2 separate regions of the Homo sapiens genome follow, and region 1 is linked to region 2. Evidence: promoter capture Hi-C in 16 types of primary human blood cells and fetal thymus (Javierre and others, 2016). All regions are on one chromosome and are shown on one strand. Each heading gives the region's core, a stretch centred on a gene start or on the middle of the fragment in contact. The rest is flanking DNA. Distances are from core to core; before and after follow the strand shown. Region 1 overlaps LOC105377406 (a long non-coding RNA gene). Region 2 holds the start of FAT4 (FAT atypical cadherin 4).

Region 1 (3,225 bases), core at 57-2,556, 1.0 Mb before region 2:
TAGAATGTTGGCTAAAATATGGATGGTAAGGCCATTCTGCTGAGACTTCAGATGGAAATGAGGAGCATGTCATGGGACAATAGAGAAAAGGAGATCCTTGTTATTAATAAGCAGCAAAAAAAATTAACTGACTTGTGTTTGTGTTCTACTGTTTTGTGGAAGGTAGAACTTGCAACCAAATTGGATATTTAACCGAGGAAATGTCTAAGCAAAGCATTGAAGGAGCAATTTGGTTACTCTTGCCTGATTATAGTTAAGTGTGAGAAGAAAGAAATGCTTTTAAGACAGAAATGTTGAGAAGGAAGTAGAATTTAAAGATTTGGAAAATTCTCAGCCTATCCACTTTGAAAACACTGAGAAAGTGTGTTGAGAAGAGACGATTAGGAGTATGGCCAAGTGACCATTTCAACCACAAACCTAAATAGCCCTCTCAACAGGAGCCAAGCATTGTTCTTGAAAATAAAGAAGGATGATACCACTTACCCCACAAGGTGATTCAGAGATAATCAGGGCTGCCTCCTTCACCACAGGCTCAGAGTGCAAGGGCCAGAGGCACAGAGCAATTTCAAAGGCTTGGGCATCCTCTCTGATTCAGGTGGGCCAGAATGCTCACACTCAATGCCTTAGGTATGGGCTTCCATGCCACAGCTGTTGCATGGGCTGTGCCCAATAGAGCCAGGGGGCAAGGTCACCACCCAGAGTCATGGTGCTATGACCCAAGACCAGCAGAGTCACCAGCATGTGATTCTAGCCCAGAAGAGCCATGAACACATGAGTCTTGCTCAGCAGAGCTGTGGAAATGGGGCCACTGCTCTAGGGGGTCTGGAGGGCAGAGAAGTTAGCCAGAGGATTATTTTGAACCTTAAGGTTTAATTCTTGAGCCCTGATGGGTTTTGAACTTACTTGATACCCTTCACCTCTTCCTTCTTTCCTATTTCTGTATTTGGAGTGGGAATGTTTATCTTATGCTTGTCTGACCAATGCATTTTGGAAGCACGTAACTGTTTTGTTTCACATGTTCATAGTTAAAGAGAAATTTAATGATAAATCATAACTTGTGCCTCCCTCATATTTGATGTAGATGATATCTAGATAAGACTTTGGACCTTAGTTTTTGGAGTTGATACTGGAATGAGTTAATGCTTTGGGGGCTGTTGGGTTGAAATGAATGCATTTTGCATGTGAGAAAGACACAAATTTGTGGGGGAGCAGAGGAGTAATGAAATGGACTGAATGTTTGTGTCCCTCAAAATTTATGTGTTGAAATCCTAACCCCCAATAGGATGGAACTAAGAGGTGGTGGTCTTTGGAAGGTAATTAGGTCATGAGAGTGGAGCCTTTGTGAATGGGATTAGTGCCTTATAAGAGGTGCTCTAGAGAGCTCTCTTGCTCTTGTGCCATGTGAGGACATGAAAAGAAGATAGTAGTCTGCAAACCATAAGAGGACCGAAACCCAACCATGCTGGCACCCTGGTTGTGGGACTTCCAGCCTATAGAATTGTGAGACAAAAGTTTTGCTTTGTTTTTTGTTTATAAGCCACCAGTCTATGGTATTTTGTTATAACACCCCAAACTGACTAAGACATCATTATACTTGGGTGGTTTTTAAATTTGTCTTCACTCCCATTCCCTATAATCTGTTTTGAAATTATAGCCATTTTAAGATTGGGTTGTTTGTATTCTTCCTATTGTGTGGCAAGAATTCTTTACATATTTCTTTATTAGATATGCATGCTGTGAACATGATCGTCCCACTTATGGCTTGCCTTTTCATTTTCTTAATGGTGTCTTTGAAAGAGCAAAAGTTTGTGTTTCTGTTATTTGAATTTTGAAGTCCAATTTTTCATTTTTGGATGGTGTATCCTTTTTTTAGTTCTATCTAAGAGACTTTACACCAAAGTCCCAAAGAGTTCCTCTCATATTTTCTTCTCAAAGTTTTACAGTTTCACTTGTTCTATTTAGATCTATGATCCATTTTGAGTTGATTTTGGTACGCAATATGAAGTAAAAGTTTAGGTCTATTTATAGACTTTCTGTTCTATTCCATCAATCCATATGTCTATAATTTCAACAAACCCAACTGTCTTAATTAGTATAGCTTTATAGTAAGTCTTGAAGTAAGGTAGAGAAACTCCTTCAACTTTGTTCTTTGAAAATATTGCTTTTGCTTTCCAGTTTCTTTGCATTTCTACATAAATTTTATAATTTACTAGCAATGTTGACCAAAATATAAAGACTTCTAGGATTTTTATTGGGATTACATTAAATCTATAGATTAACTTTCAGAGAATTGTCTTTGTAACTGTTATTTCATGTTCAAATCTACAAACATGGCATATCTCTCCATTTATTTAGACTTCTTTATTTTCTTTCACAAATTTTTATAGTTTTTAGAAAAGAGATTCTACAAATAAAATTTAAACATAATATGCAGCACAAAATCCAAGATAACCAGGCACATGAAGGGACAGGAATCAAACAAAGCAAAAGCCAGAAGAATCAGCAGCACTAGAGAATTTTGTAAGAGCACTATTTGGGAAGACAGGCATTATATTTTCCAATAAAAACTTCTAGAGACTACAGATAATGGCATTATTAGATACATGCTATAAGAATTATACTTTCTGTGTCCAAAGAAATAGAACCAAAGCTTGAAATTATCAGCAGGTATCCGGAAATTATAAAAGGGTGATATAGCAGATTGGAAATTGAACCAAATATATGTTCTCAAACTAAAAATTACAATAGTCTTACTATAAAATAAAATAGGGAGGTTTAATAACAGGTCAGATGCTTCTCTTCAGGTGAAGAGAAAATTAATGATATGAAAAGTAAATCAGAAGAAAATATCTACAATTAAGCGTGGAAATACAAAAGATGAAAAAGACCAAAAAGAGGGTGAAATATAGATAAATACATTGAAAAACCTAAAATACACATCTTTTTGAAAGGAGGAGAGGGAAAGATGGGACAAAAGTAACCTTGTAAGATATTATGTATGGGCAATTTTGAGAAATTGTGAAATATATTTATTAAGTGACAGATTCAATAAGCCTGATAATCCCAAGCAGAAAATTTCTTTTCAAAAAATTAATCCACCCAGGCACACACAGTTCAGCTATGAAAGAAAAAAAAAGAAAAATATCTTAAAAAAAGAACAAAATGTAGATGTACACTCAACAAAAATATCCATCTAGAATGAGAGTGAAACACATTTTAAACAAA
Region 2 (3,176 bases), core at 550-3,049:
TTAAGAAAAATACGATTTTTGAAAAACAGGCTTAAATGTCTCTAAAAAGTCTAGAGTCTAATGTTTTCAAGTTTTAAAATACATAAATGGTTAAATTTAACTTTTTTGTCTGTTTCCAGTTAACTCATTACATTACAGTAGAGGAATATGTAGAAGTTAGCTTTTTAACCTAAACAGAGGAATTGGTGATAGCTTTAGAAATCATGTTTCCATAAATCAGTTTTGAGTTACAGGCTGCCTGCATCATCAAGACTTGAATTTGCTGTCTGTCCTACTATTCTTGATTTTTTTTTTTTTACTCTAAATAAGAAAGGCACTAGGAAAGTCTTAGAGATCGTTTTCTTTGCTGCTATCCCTAGGCAAGAAGCAGGAATTAGCCTTGTAATCCGATCCTTTTAGTCTCTGCATTTAATTTTAAGCAAGAAACCAGGAGACTAAAGATGTAAGACTGACGTAGAACAGCAGAGGGCAGTATTTACTCATGACTGAACCCTCTCTGGGCGCAGAAAGTTTTACGTTTGTGAGGGATCCTTGTGGCAGAAATGTATGACATATGCCCTGTATTTGCATTGTTTGGCTTGAATTCTTATTTTCTAGGTTGGTTCCCTTAAAGGGGAAAAATATCGATCTGATTCCTAGTAACGTTTTTCTTCTTTTAAAGAAACGATGCATGCCACCACAAAAATTAACTGCAGTGAATAGTGGGTGAGTTGATCTGAGTGCATTAAGTGGCATGTGGGTATTTTTAAAAACTTAAGCTTAAATATTATTTTATTTATTTCTACTTTCTCGTATCTATTTCTCCCAGACTGAAAAGCAAAATAAAACTTTATTAGGTTTCCTTTGACTAAAAAATGTGGAGGTGGAAATACTCCATCAGGGATCAAAATTCCAAACTAACTTTGCAACAGGAAAAGATCTCCCTCTTTTCAAAGGGCTGCCATTATTATTGTTGTTGAAACCCTAAGGTTTGGGCTACTGGCACCTGGAATCCAGTTGGGAAAGAAAACAAAACAAACACTGAGTTCCCCTGGCCTTTCCTATAGTAGGAAGTCCAAAGTGCCCTTGCTACGGAGGCCTCCTGCCCCCTAGTCACCTGGAAGGTGGGGGAGAGGGGCAAGTGAGTGAAGATTTAGAGTTTAGCTCGCCCTAGACAGCAGGGAGCCCACTGTGTAGAAAGAGGAGCAAAGGGGAGGATTTGATTTGGATTCTGTGGGATCACACTGTATGGCAGCTCTATCCCTTGCATAAAGAGAGAAGGGGCAGGAAATGGTTAAAGCAAATCTGCACTGTGCATTCCCAGACAGGCTTTGCTTAATCCTTCCTCCCCGCTTTAACAGACCCTCACCCCCCGCCTTTCTTTTATTTCTCTCGACCCCCTTACCCCTGAGTTATTACTAGCATAACAACCTAACGGTCTTCCCCCAGACCCTGCCACTAAAGTTATTTATCTGCAAACCTGACCCCACCCCCATCTATTCTGCGGCAGCCTTTTGCTGTTATTGCTCTGACGCCGGCCAAGATTTGGCCGAAAAGGAAAAAAAAAAAAAAAAAAGAAAAGAAAAAAAATCACCCCCCTTTTTAGCGCCTCCGCCTCGCTGTGCTCCCACACCAGACCGCCTACAGCCCTCCGGGAGGCTGAAGTGATTAGCATCCCGAGAAGCCAGTCGGAGGCCGGGCAAGGCGGAGGGCGCTCGCGGTAGGAGTGCCGGTCGGGGCTGCTTCAGCTCCGGCCCAATGGGGCTGGGGCGAGGGAGGGGCAGAAGGTGACAGGACTGGGAGCTAGGGGGAGTCCAGGCGAACTAAAGTGCGGGGATCAATGAGTGTCGAGCAAAGTTTCTGAGTGCTGCTCCAGCTCGCGGTCTTCCCTCCCCCTCTGTTTGTGTTTCGGCGACGCGCTGTGTGTGTGTGTGTGCGTGTGTATGTGTGTGTGTGTGCATGCCTGTGCGGCGGGGAAGGGGCGGGGAGAGTGTGAGGGACCAGGCGGGAGGTGGAGAAGGGCTCGCGGAGCCCTAGCTCCACCGCAGTCCAACCTTCGGCCCCGGCCGGCGAGAGGGAGAGCGCTGACAGGCGCCGTCCGGAGCTGCGGAGGGCGTCACTACAGCCCAGCGCCGACTTCGCCGCCTCCGCTGCCAACTGTGAAGGAGAGAGAGGCATCAACCACCCCCCGCCCCAAACAAAAAGCCTTGTGGATTACAAAGTGAAACTGACACGGGACAATAAAAGCAGAGATAGCGAGGGCAGGGGCGAGGCGCGCTAGAGTGGGCTTCTGACTGGGGCCGCCGGAGAACGACCCCCCCTGGCATGGTGAGGGGAGGGCGACTCGGGGACCGCACGCTGTTTCTGCCCGACCCCTGCGAGGCCGAGAAGAAAGGGGAAACTGCGTTCGATTTGGATGTACAAATAATGGGTCGGCAGGCGCCCCGGCAGAGGTGAAAAATGCCGAGGAGCCCTGGCTGTTGTTTGTGCCGGACCACGGGCTTGAAGCCGCAACAGGGGCGGCGGCGGCGGCGGCTGCAGGAGGGGAAGGGGCAGAGTTGAGCGCTCCCGGGTACGGGAGCCAGAGCGCGAACGCTAGCGCTTGGAACGCAGTTCCCGAACTGCCTGCGCGCAGACGCCGCCGCCTGGGCCTCAGCGGCCACTGCCGGCGCCCTGTTGGAGGGGCGTTGCAGCCTGGTTTTTGAGGAGTGGGGACTCCAGGAATTCCATCGCCTCCAGCTTTTGGGAAAGAAATTCGATTCTCCCGGTTCCCCACCACCCCTTCCCCGGTGCGCAGTTGTGCTTGGACGTTTGTTCCTCCCTCTTCACGTTCTTCGCTGCGGGTAAGTTCTAAAGTTTCTGAAGACCGTTCTTTGCAATGATTCCTCATATACCTTAGATACAGGCAACTTCTCCCAACTCTCATCCACCCGGGTGAAAACGCTCAGACTATCTGGATTCAAAAACAAAGTAAAAGGGGGCATATATAAGAGGCTTGAGAAACTTTTCTGGGAACTCAGCTCACAGGAGTGTCCCGCGGAATGCCCTGCCGCTTTTCGCCACAGCATCTCTCTTGCACTCCGCGTTCAACTGGCTACCTAGAGTCTTTTGCTGATGCTACTTGCTTTTGCCGGACTGGAGGTTCTTTGAAATAGCAGAGGTCTCAGACCAAGCCGTCAGCTGAATCTTTGCTGGCG

Evidence for each region. Contacts are between HindIII fragments. The CHiCAGO score rates a contact against its expected background, and 5 or more counts as called.
Region 1: a contact is called between a fragment that was not itself captured here and the fragment with the promoter of FAT4 in region 2, in 1 of 17 cell types (monocytes). The highest score is 6.1, in monocytes.

What each region holds. Positions count from the first base shown.
Region 1 is chr4:124,294,187-124,297,411 of GRCh38, forward strand. All of the region lies in intron 3 of LOC105377406 (a long non-coding RNA gene), which reads left to right. Among named protein-coding and RNA genes, the nearest start is that of LINC02516, 260 kb to the right of the region's middle. The HindIII fragment of the contact is 2,684 bases long and covers 1-2,648 here.
Region 2 is chr4:125,313,156-125,316,331 of GRCh38, forward strand. FAT4 (FAT atypical cadherin 4) reads left to right here and starts at 1,800. Exons shown (of 18, transcript NM_001291303.3): 1 at 1,800-2,822. The HindIII fragment of the contact is 5,556 bases long and covers 757-3,176 here.